Linked DNA regions of Homo sapiens: region 1 is linked to region 2. The links are contacts of gene promoters, found by promoter capture Hi-C in blood cells and fetal thymus (Javierre and others, 2016). All regions are on one chromosome and are shown on one strand. The core of a region is centred on a gene start or on the middle of the fragment in contact, and the rest is flanking DNA. Distances in the headings are between cores, read along the strand shown.

The links. Contacts are between HindIII fragments. The CHiCAGO score rates a contact against its expected background, and 5 or more counts as called.
Region 1: a fragment that was not itself captured here is called in contact with the fragment with the promoter of GABARAPL2 in region 2 in 1 of 17 cell types (monocytes); the score reaches 6.6 in monocytes.

Annotation. Positions count from the first base shown.
Region 1 is chr16:75,104,051-75,110,025 of GRCh38, forward strand. It overlaps ZNRF1 (zinc and ring finger 1), which reads left to right. Exons shown (of 5, transcript NM_032268.5): 3 at 734-839; 4 at 2,432-2,521; 5 at 3,683-5,975. The coding sequence ends at 2,489. Among named protein-coding and RNA genes, the nearest start is that of LDHD, 9.7 kb to the right of the region's middle. RefSeq lists enhancers at 3,616-3,785, 4,980-5,129, 5,160-5,239. The HindIII fragment of the contact is 2,439 bases long and covers 2,152-4,590 here.
Region 2 is chr16:75,563,994-75,569,589 of GRCh38, forward strand. It overlaps GABARAPL2 (GABA type A receptor associated protein like 2), which reads left to right and starts at 2,386. Exons shown (of 4, transcript NM_007285.7): 1 at 2,386-2,527; 2 at 2,859-2,914; 3 at 4,044-4,216. The coding sequence starts at 2,494. RefSeq lists a silencer at 2,449-2,858 and enhancers at 2,848-3,601, 5,402-5,501. The HindIII fragment of the contact is 5,212 bases long and covers 1-3,791 here.

The DNA of each region.
Region 1 (5,975 bases), core at 2,121-4,620, 460 kb before region 2:
CTCTGTCCCCAATACTGATCTCCTTTCCCTCTCTATGGATGTATCTATTCTGGACATTTCATATAAATGGGTTCATACAATAGGTGGTTTCTTTTACTTTGTGTAGTATTTTTGACGTTTATCCATGTTTTAGCATGTGGTGGTTCTTCCTTTTCTTGGCTTAGTAATATTCCATTGTGTGGATACATCATCTTTTGTTTATCCGTTGCGCAGTTTGTAGACACTGGGTTGTTTCCACCTTTGGGCTGTTGTGAACAATGCTGCTGTGAACCTCCGTGCACAAGGATTTTCTTGGGGACCTGTTTCTTCCTCTCATTCTTGCCTCCTACCACTCTACCCATTACCATATTTTTCCAAACCAGACATCAGCACACTGGCTACGTGTGTGTTTAGGAAAGCATCTGTGGAGGGAAACAGCTTGCCTCATGCTGCCCCTGCTTCCTGTCTACCCTTCTCCAAGCCTTTTTCGTCCGCTGTCACCTAGGCTTTTGGTTAATCACATGTTGAGATTAATCCCATTTTGTCTTTGGGTAATTAACATGTGATGTCCACGCATTATCTCCACGGTGAAAGTCTTAAGGTCAACGTCCCTCTTGGGGTTCTGTGTCCCCTGCAGAGCCGGGCACAGCTTGGGGCAGCTAAGCAGTCCCCTAGTTCCTAGGCCCTTGCTTGCCCCATGCCACCTGTCCACTGGTGACTAACCCTCCTGCACTCTCCCCTGTCCCCCTTGCAGATGATGTGCTGACTAAAGACGCGGGTGAGTGTGTGATCTGCCTGGAGGAGCTGCTGCAGGGGGACACGATAGCCAGGCTGCCCTGCCTGTGCATCTATCACAAAAGGTAGGAGGGGTTGGCAAGGTAGCTTAGTGCACCCCACCTCCCAGAGGGGCGGACCCCCATCTCCAGCCATTCTGTCTCCTTTGGTTATGGGATGACCTCTCCCCCGACCTCTGGCTCCGAGCGGGTAAGGGCAGAGGCCATCAGACAGGTGTCCACTGTGCCGGCGGGAAGGTGCGAGCATCCCAAGTGCAGAGCAGAGTGGAGTTGCCAGAGGTGTGCTCTGGTTTGAGGGCTCAGGTGGTGGGAGCTGATGGGGAGACCCGTAGAGCCTCACAGGTTGGAGGAGCTTCGGATCCCACTGGGAAGGTTGGTTCTCCGTCTGTCTCCCTGCCTCTTCTTCCTCTACGGGTCCCTCTGCTCCACAGGGGTAGAACATCAATCTGTGCGAGGAAGGCCAGGCGGAGGGTGTACCCACTGCCTTGCACTGGCCTTCTCCCTAGAGGGCCGGGAGGCAGGAAGAGCCATTTCCTGTGGGGCCACAGCACTGGGCACAGTTAAAAGTAGCAGGGCCCAGATATGCCTTGGGACTCCAGTGTGAGCCTCGTCCTTGTTTCCAGCTGGAAGGAAGGCACCCTCTTGCCCAAGACAGGACACTGTGCTGCCTGGGGCCAGCACCTGTTGAATCCTCGAGCCCAGAGCTTCTTCCTGACACTCAGGCCTTTCAAAGCCTGACTCTCAGGGCCACTGCTGCACAGGGTGACAACCGGGCATGGCACGCAGTGTGGCTGGTGCAGAGGAGGCTTAAGGCTGGCCTGGGAGAGATTCTTGGTCTAGCTCCCAGCACGGAGCCTTGCTTGTGTCCCAGGGCGGCACTAACCAGAACCAGAAAAGGAAATCTTTGGCCCTCGGGGAGAATTATGCCAATTATCTGTCTGGTTCCTGTCTTTGAAAATGCCCAGATGTTGGTTTACAAATCAGGAAGCTGTCTTGGGGCAATCTCTGTTCCCTCTTTGATGCAGAGAGCCTTTCTCTGTAAACACTGGAGAGCAGGGCTTCACTGTCTGGCTCCCCTCCCGCCTCTTGCAGGAAGGACTAGATGCTGCTGATCAGCTGATCATGGCTGAGCCGGGTAGAGCTTGGGGCTCTCCTAAGAGGTCACCCACTGGGAGGGAGCTTCACAGCTGTTCTTTTGACCCAGGAAGGAGCTCTTTCAGGACTGTGGCACCCAGAGCCGTGGCCCTCCTGCCATGCCATTGTTCCCACTTCCCTGCCCTTGGGAGTCTTGGAGACAGCTGACTAGCTGCCCTGAGGGGTCCACCGCTCTCACCTTCTCACTGGTGGCTGCTGCCATTCTCCTGGGCTCTGCACAGAAAGCTTTGGTCCTTCTGAAAGCCACTCTGCCCCTTCCTGCAGCACCAGATCCCCCTGAGCCGGTACTGCTGCCTCCACCTGGGCCAAGACTAGTCTTGGTGTTCACCCTTCTTCGTGCTTCAGAAAGTAGGGATATCTGGGGACATGACTGTGTTTCCCTGGGGTCCTTTCAGAAGAGACTTAGGAAGCTCCTGCTCAGGAATCTGGCCCTCTGAAAGAGCCCCTTCAAAGCAGCCTGGGCAGCAGGTAACGTGGTTTCCCTTGCGGCCCCCTCCTCCCAGCTGCATAGACTCGTGGTTTGAAGTGAACAGATCTTGTCCGGAACACCCTGCGGACTGACCTGCGGGCTTGCTTGCTGACTCCTCTCAAAGGTGAGCCCGCGTTTGGGGGTGCTCCGGGCTCAAGGCTTGGGGTCAGGTCACTTTGGGGGCCTGCAGTTTAGGGAGCCGGGCTGCCCTTATGCCACTGAGAAGAAAGCAGGAGCAGAGGGAAGGAGCACCTCATCAGTGAGCAGTTAGTCATCCGGAAATGATTTTCCCTGGGAAGGACAAGAGATACAAACCAACATGGACAGTTATGAAGAACAGGCTCAGAAGAGTTAGGATCAGTTGGGGAAGAGACCAGTACAATCTACATTCCTAAAGAAAGTTCAGGAATATCCCCTGGGAATGTGCACGGGCAGGAAAAGGAGCCTGAGCGGTGGGTTTGTGCCTGGCTTGGCCTCATCCTCGCTCACCTCTGAGTCTCCGCCTCTTCTATGGTAACGGGGATAATCTCACTCCCTGTTGCCATAAGGACATTGCACTTACTAAACAGCCATGGGCAGTGCATTGTTCCCTGCAAAGTGCTGGTCAGCGATCATTTGACCACTGCTTCTTCCCATGCCGCTTCCAGATGAATCTGAGGCCTCCAGGCCAGACTCGATCCCTCTATCCCACAGCACTGGGTGCTGACTCCACACATCCCCCTGGCTTACCGCTGGGTCTGGCCTCCCCATTTCTCCCCCAGGGGTACCCCACTTGCTGCCAACCATCCACCCCTGACCCCCATCTCACCTGTCCCCTCCAAGTTCTGGGCTGGCATTTTCCTTTTTCTGGCAAACAAGTAGACAAAACCCCCATAAAAACCAAAAGCCCAACTCCATCTCACAGCCAAAGGTTTTGGGACCTTTTTCTTCCCCCCTCCCTTTCTCTCTCTCTTGCTTTCGTTTTCTTTTGTTAGGTTTATTTTATTTATTCCAAGTAAACTCCCAGAACAGCTGATGATGTCAGACAAATCAGGGACATTTGCTCTTTTTACCTCCACCTCAAAAACTGATGACAAGGGGAGAAGAAAGAGCCAGGGGGGAGAGTGAGGCAGGGGAGTAGAACCTGCCCAGGCACATGGCTGCAAATTCCCCGTGTGCTGTTTGGCTTCTGGGGTCCTGTGTAGACGCCCCAGCCCCGCCTGCCCTCTTGGGATGCAGCTGCCCTGGGATGAGCAGACAGCCCTCGGCCCGATGGAGCACGACTTATTTATTACGGTCCACACAGGGACAGAGCGCCCCTGCTCCAGGGAGGAGGCTCACCGGACCCTGGGGCAGAGCTGAGCTTGGGACACCAGCGGGAACAGGGCACCCCTTCTGCACTGACTTCCAGATCATGGTTCTCCCTTCCTCCCTGAGGACACCAAATTGGATGAGAGCAAGTTTGAGAGAAGAATGAATCAACTGCTATCCTTCCCCTCACCCCTCAGCCCAGGAGGGAAAGGGCATTTTCTTTTTCATCTTTGAAAGGCATTGTGGGTCTGTCTTTAAAGTGTTTACAAAAAAAAATTATATAAAAAAAAAGTCTAGTGTCGACTGGTGTTTTCCCTCGTGATGTTTACAGCTTGCTGTTTGCTGCCCAGCCATAACCCACTCAGTGACAGACGAACACAGCTAAGGCCTCGCTGCCAGCCTTCTGACGGCGGGCGAGCACACGGTCTCTTCCCCTGCCCCAACTGGCCCTCTCCACCACCAACTTCTCTACTTTGGGTTTGTTTGGTTTTTTCCCTCTATTTTTCTGGCTGGTTTTTTGCTCTTTTCTCCCCTTGAGACCCTAATATCTTGACTTCATTGCCAAAAAACAACCCATTGAGAACTTTCTTCCTACTGATCCCATCTCTTTTCCCTTCTTTCCTCCTGGTTCCGGTCAGTTCAGAGGATTTAACAATCACAAGTGTCCTGCAAAAATGCCTGAACATTATTCTTAGGCCCTCGTGGATTTTTTTTTTCAGAAAACTTAAACAAAAAAAGACTTACTAAGAAATATGTACAGCTACCCCTGTTTTCAGGCACTATGTTTGAGAACATTTTAGCCATTGATGTTCACACGTGGCATCAGCCCATGCAAGATAGGTTTCTGTATTTATATATTAAAATACAAAAAAAAACTTATAAAATGTTTAAAAAAATGTTCAAAGCTTGGGAGAAAAGCTTTCTTCATTAGTCAAGGTGTTTTGATATGGTATTAAAATGTCTAATAAAAGATGGCACTGCGTGATTTTATTTTAATGAAGTGTTATACAATCAAGAAATGGGGGCAAGGGCCTGCCCCCCACTCCCTCACCTACCTCCTTAGCATTCCTTCAGGCTGCTACTCGGGGCTCCAGGTGTGTGAATTGGTCCTCAGATAGTCAGGCCTGGGTGGAGGGAGTGGCAAGTCAGGCGTGCCTCCTACAAGCTTCCTAACCTCTTAAGCATCATGGAACCAGTCAGCCCTCTGTGGAGTCATTGTGCTGGACCTCTGAAAAGATCTGCAGGGGCCAAGATGTTGCAGCCACCGGAGGCTGCAAGGATGTGGGTTCTTCCAGGTGTGGGCCCAGCCCCCCTCCTTCCAGCCTTTGCTCCCCATCCCACGTTCCACTCGCCCTGCCTGTTGTTCAGTTTGCGTCTCAGTGCTGACTCACGGGCATGCTTCATTGAGGCCCAGGAAGAGGCCCTGGTTTGGGGCTGTGCCAGCTCAGAGCCCTTGAACCAGAACCAACTGCTCAGGCTCACAAAAGTTGGCAAAATGCGGGCTGGGCAGGCAGCTCGGGGCAGGGAGCAGCAGTGCAGGCCTGGCCTGTGTCCCCGTGCCCAGCGGGCTCCCGGAGCAGCATTCCAGAGCCTCCTGCAGAGCCAGCGAAGGAAAGCTCTAGAGGGAGACGACTCCACCGCCTCTCTGCTCTGACCCTTCTCAGGCCCGCCTGATGTGCTGGACCATCCCCCTGCTGCCACGGCCCCTGGCTCCGCAGTCACCCTCCATCAGATGCTTCCAGAAGCACCTACTCTGTGCAAGGGCATTCACAACAGGCCAGTGGGCAAACGTGAGCCAGGGCCAGCGGAGAAACACTAAAGAAGACTCGGTGGTTCAGAGCCTGGGTCTCAGCGCGGGACCCGTCTGGGGTGAAGACCTTGGGGCTGTTGTGAGTCGGTGGCAGGAACGTGGGCTCTAGACTGTGCATTCAGGCTCTCCTACTTGGCAGAATGATCTTGGGGAAACGACTTCATCTGAACTTCAGATATTTCACATGTGAAGCGGGGACAAAACCATGCAGCTCAGAGGTCCCTGTGGGGGCTGGGGGAGCTGCCCTGCAGGTCTTGGCACATGCACAGCAGGCTCCCCATAGCTTTGTCACCACAAAGGGCACTGTTCTATTCACAGCACCTCCTGCTTCTGCCTGGCAACTGTGTCTCCCTGTGCTATATTTAATTCCACCAGCAAAGCTGGCGAGGCAGGGCCCAGCCCTGAAGGAGATCTCCTTGCCTGACCCCTGGACCTGGAAATGGAGGCTTCATGTGCCCGCCTTGGCGGCTTAAGCCTG
Region 2 (5,596 bases), core at 1,136-3,635:
CAACATCATCTTTCACCAGGATTATCACAATAGTGTCTCAACTATTTCCCTGCTTCCACCCTCAGCGCCTACAGTCTACTAAGCTAGCCTTTTGAAAAGGAAAGGCAGATTGTGTTACGTCTCTGCTTAAACCCCTACACTGACTTCTCATCTCATTCTAAATAAAATCCAAAGCTCTTTGCATGGAATTCAAAGCTCAACACAGTTTTGTTCTAGATATCTTTGAATTTGTCTCATAACACACTCTCCTCTCTCATTTATTCAGCTCCAGCCACAGGGGTTCCCTAGAATATGCCAGGCACTTTATCTAATTAGCATTCCATCCCACCACACTCTCTAGTCACCTACTGTGCTTTATTTTTCGAAATAGCACCTATCATTACCTAACATACTTATTTTTTGTCTTATCCCACTAGAATATGTCAGGGGGACAAGAATATCTCATGCTGCCACCCATGAGAATAGGGATGTCATCTGTCTTCTTCACTGTTTTTCCCCAGCACCTAGCACAGAGCTCTTGTATGTAACAATAATTTCTAAGTAGGAAATTCAAAGGATTTTTTCCACTTCATTAAAAACAAACAAACAGATGCAGTGGCTCACACCTGTAATCCTAGCACTTTGGGAGGCCGAGGCGGGCAAATCACTTACTTGAGGTGAGAAGTTCAAGACCAGCCTGGCGAACATGACAAAACCCCATCTCTACCAAAAATACAAAAATTAGCTGGGTGTGGTGGTGTGTCCCTGTAGTCCCAGCTACTCAGGAGGCTGAGGCAGCAGAATCGCTTGAACCCAGGAGGCAGACTGCAGTAAGCCAAGATTGTGCCACTGAACTCCAGCCTGGGTGACAGAGAAAGACCCTGTCTCCAAAAAACAAAAACAAAAACAAAGAAACAAAAAAACCTATTCTAGTTACTCAGACACACAGTCTTAAAATAACAAAAATACTTATAGAATGAAGCTAGATTCCACAGCATCGATCAGGAATTTCCAGTGTAGGAAATGATGAACTACCACATTCAAACATACAGGCTTTACAGGTGCATCAGAATCACAAGCACGTGGCAGGGTTCATGTGCCCAATTAAGTGAATATTCCTGCTACATGTTCAGCAGCTTATAAACAGATGGTGACCCAGACCAGACTGCCTTGATGAGTCTGCTTGGAAAAAAGGCATTACATCACTGATTGGAGAACCTCAAAGCATATGTCCGGGCAGGTGACACACACACAGCTCAGGCTGTGATTGCTAAACCACTCCCACAGCCAAATAAGGAAACCCATCTCATGACCAGCTCTCAGGGGAATTCTCCGAGTCTGACAGTCACCTCTAACTCCTCTGCCAGTTAAAATTAAGGGGTCTGTGATCAGTGATGTTACACTCCTCAAATGTGCATTTTTTTTTGAGGCGGAGTCTTGCTCTGTTGCCCAGGCTGGAGTGCAGTGGTGTGATCTCGGCTCACTGCCACCTCCACCTCCCTGGTTCAAACGATTCTCCTGCCTCAGCCTCCCGAGGAGCTGGGACTACAGGCGCCCACTACCATGCCTGGCTAATTTTTGTATTTTTAGTAGAGACGGGGTTTCACCATGTTGGCCAGGCTGGTCTTCAACTCCTGACCTCAGGTGATCCACCCGCGTCGGCCTCCCAAAGTGTTGGGATTACAGGCGTGAGCCACCGTACCCCGCCTCAAATGTGCATTTGTGATACCTTTTCGTAAATGTTTATTCAAATATTTATTCACGAATAAAGGAAGAAAACGGGATTTGTTTAAATTCAATTTCTAGGTCCAAGACAACCTACTACGGCTGTCCCTAATACGGACCTCCGGGTTGTCCTCAGTGCCGCTTCCAACAGTGTCCTCAAACACCCTCCCCTCCCATAATGAGCCCCCAACCTGTCACCACTCCGAGCAATACTCCCCAAACTGTCAACGCCCTAAACAGCTCCCTTGTTATCGCCAAGCTCTAGAAAGCCCTCCTTATGTCATTCTTACCCCTAAAGACCGTTCTTGTCACCAATTCCCCAGACTTCCCCTATGAACCGCTCTAAGAGCCCTCAGCTATCAGCCACACCCCCAAACAGCCCTCAGTAAGAGCCCTACACTATCAGCCAGACGTTTTCCGCCACCAACGCTCCCGAGACCCCACTCCTGTCACCAGTTCCCCGAACATTCCTGCGAGCAATGTCGCAGATACTGCTCACAGACGTCCCCATAACCAACTTCTTCGCCACCGCAGCCCAGGAGCCCCCAAAGGGGTCCTCCGCGGCCCCGCCCCTTTACGTGCGGCCCCGCCCCTTGGCGTGGCGCCCTGACAAATGGCGCCGGAAGCCCCGCCCCCGGCCGGTTGCTAGGCTCCGACAGCCGGAAGTCCCGCCTGCCGTGTAGTCGCCGCCGTCGCTGCCGCTGCCGCTGCCGCCGTCGTTGTTGTTGTGCTCGGTGCGCTGAGCTCCGCGGCTCCGCGAGCCGGTTCCGTCCCCTTCCCGCCGCCGCCATGAAGTGGATGTTCAAGGAGGACCACTCGCTGGGTAAGCACTTGGTCGTCGGCCCGGCTGCTGGGGGCTGGGGCGGCGGGTGGGCCCCCTCCCCCACTCGGGCGGCCCTGGGCCGAGTGGAGCGGGGCGGATGCCCTGCTGCGGGCTGGAGTCGCCCATGCCCTGGTGCCTCGGGCAGCGGCCCCCTGACCCCATGTCACCCTCCGCGGGCCTTGCTGGGAGCTAGTAGGGGACAGGACCGCGGCCCCGGGGACGCCGGAACCAGGGCCTGGGTTGTACGCAGGGCGCAGGAGGAGGAGGGCCGGGGGCCGGGAACCGACCGGTGGGCAGGCGCGGCCGTCAGCCCCGTTTGTTTCTCCCACAGAACACAGATGCGTGGAGTCCGCGAAGATTCGAGCGAAATATCCCGACAGGGTTCCGGTGAGTGGACTCTCCGCCCCCTCACCTCGCTGTCACCTCTGTCGTCTGGGACCCGTGATAGGCCCCAGGCCATTCAACAGTTGACAAGTTGAGGTTCCAGTCCCAGTTACAGTAGCTGACGGGCCAGACCGGGATGAGGCCGCCCAGGGCCGGGGCGTGAGGGGCTCGGGCTGGTGCTGTTCAGGGTGCCTCAGTGCTGAATCTCCCGATCTAGGCCAGCGAGCCGTCTGCAGCCTCGGGGCTCCCTGGCCAATTATGTAAGGAACGATGTTCTAGGACAGGGCAACAGGTCACTGCCACTTTTGGGAATGGTGGTGGAGGGAGACTGTCATTTTGGTCTTGGAAGTGGTACTTGAGTCTCAGGACGTTCATCTTTTACTTTGTCTCCATCTTTACCTAACTTCTAGCTCCGTTATCTCACCTTGACCCTGTCATCCTTGCCTGACCAAAATAATGTGAAAAGCCGCTGAAAACCCCTTCTGCCATATTTTCTTCTTAGTCAATAATAAATATAATGTTATATTTCTTCCATGGTTGGGGAGATAGTTTTGTAATCGTTATTAATTTTTAATGGACATTAAGGCCTGTTATTGTAGCTCTTTGCTTGTGAATAATTTGTCTGGGGAAAGGAGTAGGAGGGACGGATTTGAAACTTGTTCAGAGAGGAGCAACAGGCCAAATGAAGAACTTGGTTCTTGGCTGGCTAAAATTCCAGGCATTCCAATTAGTCCATCCATTCTTGTCTCCTGTGTTCCTTGGGAACACAGTAGTGTTTCCTGTAGTGTGAAGGTGGATCCATTCTGGGGTCCTGGAGTAACGGGCCATGGATGAAACCCTCCCCAGATATTCTTAGGTCTGCCCAGATAAAATGTGGAAAAGCTTAGTGGTAAGGGCTGCATTTCTCTTACATAATTGACCACAGAAAAGCACTTACTGTTTCCCTGTAACACATTTATATCAATTCTTAACCTCCAGAGCGTGTGGTTTATTAAGCCAAAGACATATTTTCTCCTGCTATGCAGTTCCCCACCCACCTCCTTGCCCACACTCTGTTCATCAGCTCCTCAGCCATGTGAGGCCAGAGCCTCGCTTTAGGAAACACAGTCCTGACCTCTCTTTACTTTCCCAGGTGATTGTGGAAAAGGTCTCAGGCTCTCAGATTGTTGACATTGACAAACGGAAGTACTTGGTTCCATCTGATATCACTGTGGCTCAGTTCATGTGGATCATCAGGAAAAGGATCCAGCTTCCTTCTGAAAAGGCGATCTTCCTGTTTGTGGATAAGACAGTCCCACAGTCCAGGTGAGAGGTGTTTACTAGATGGGCCCTCTGGTATTAGACATCTGGTTGGCTGCTTACGGAACTCCAAAACTTTGGAAGTCTGAAAACTCTTAGGGGTCCTGACTAGAAATCTGGATTTTATGCTCCCTGACATCAGGGGCTCCAGGAAAATAATGGCTGCAATACATAAGAGTGCATTTTGGATTCAGAAAATAGAACAAGGCCTGGACTTTTAAAAAAATGATGAAACTCAGCCTAAGATCTCCAAGAATCTTTTAAAACGGTTGAGAACTTATTTAGTCTTAAGCTATAGGTAGAACTGAGGCCTGAAATGAGGTTTTCTTCCCTGAAGGCAGTCCTGGCATGCTCCTCCACTGGGAGCCTGTGGGCCCTGCTGAGGCTCACTCAGTTAATCATCCAGTTTGCTTGCTCCCAAACTTGGTCAACTCTTTGACATTGTAAGAGTCTATAGCTGCCTGATCCTCAAGTCTGACAAAATGACTGCGGCACAGTAAAGGGCTCTGAAGTCTCTTTACAGACTTATACCTCCCTTGGTAGCACTTGCTTTGACTGTCAGACTATTGTGCTGCCTGGAAGCAATCTTTGGGACTGTAACTTGTGGCCTGAATGTAGGCAGAGGCATTAGAATTCCCGTTTTCTGTGTGTTTGACAGCCCAGCTTTAGTCCCCTGTGGAAAAAGGAAAGTGGATGGGCTCCGTCTAACCTCCTGGTCAGTCCTTTCCCGTTACTGAGTGGGTAGTTGTAGGCCCTGATCCAGATTCCAGCCCCCACCTCTCCCCTGAGTGTGAGTTTCTGGCCACATCTTATCTTTGTGACCCAATCTAGGTTTCATTTACCACTCCCAGAAGTAATACTTCTAAAAGTGAAGGCTCTCAGAAGCCCTGGGAACTAGCCCAATGTTGTCCAAATAGGTTCCTGTTGAAAATCCTTGAAGACTCCAGAAGAGGCCTGTGCCAAATTCCAGACCTTATTTCTGTTAAAGGTGGAAAGCTCTGGCCATTTTTTGGTCTGATTTCCTCTTTCCCAGTGTCCTCCACCTCTACTTCCTGGTGTCTGATAGAAAGGCAGGGGAGAAATGGAAGCTCCTTCCCTAAGGCCAGTATTCAACCTGAGGAGACACCCCAGGGCCTGCCCACTGGACGCCATTGGTCTGCCACAGCTGTAGCTCTGGAAGCTGTGGTGTTGCTTGAGGAGATCTTGTCACCCATGGGGCTCTTCTAACCTTCCTTCCCAGGCCTCTGGGCTGTGTCTTCACCAGGGGAGGAAGCCTTGGGCATCCGTGGTTACCCTGGGCTTTCCTTAACGTGTTTGGGGAGGTAATCTTCTTTCATAACATCTGCAACTTCTACAGAGCCTTGGTGACTCTGTGTTTTGTACTTC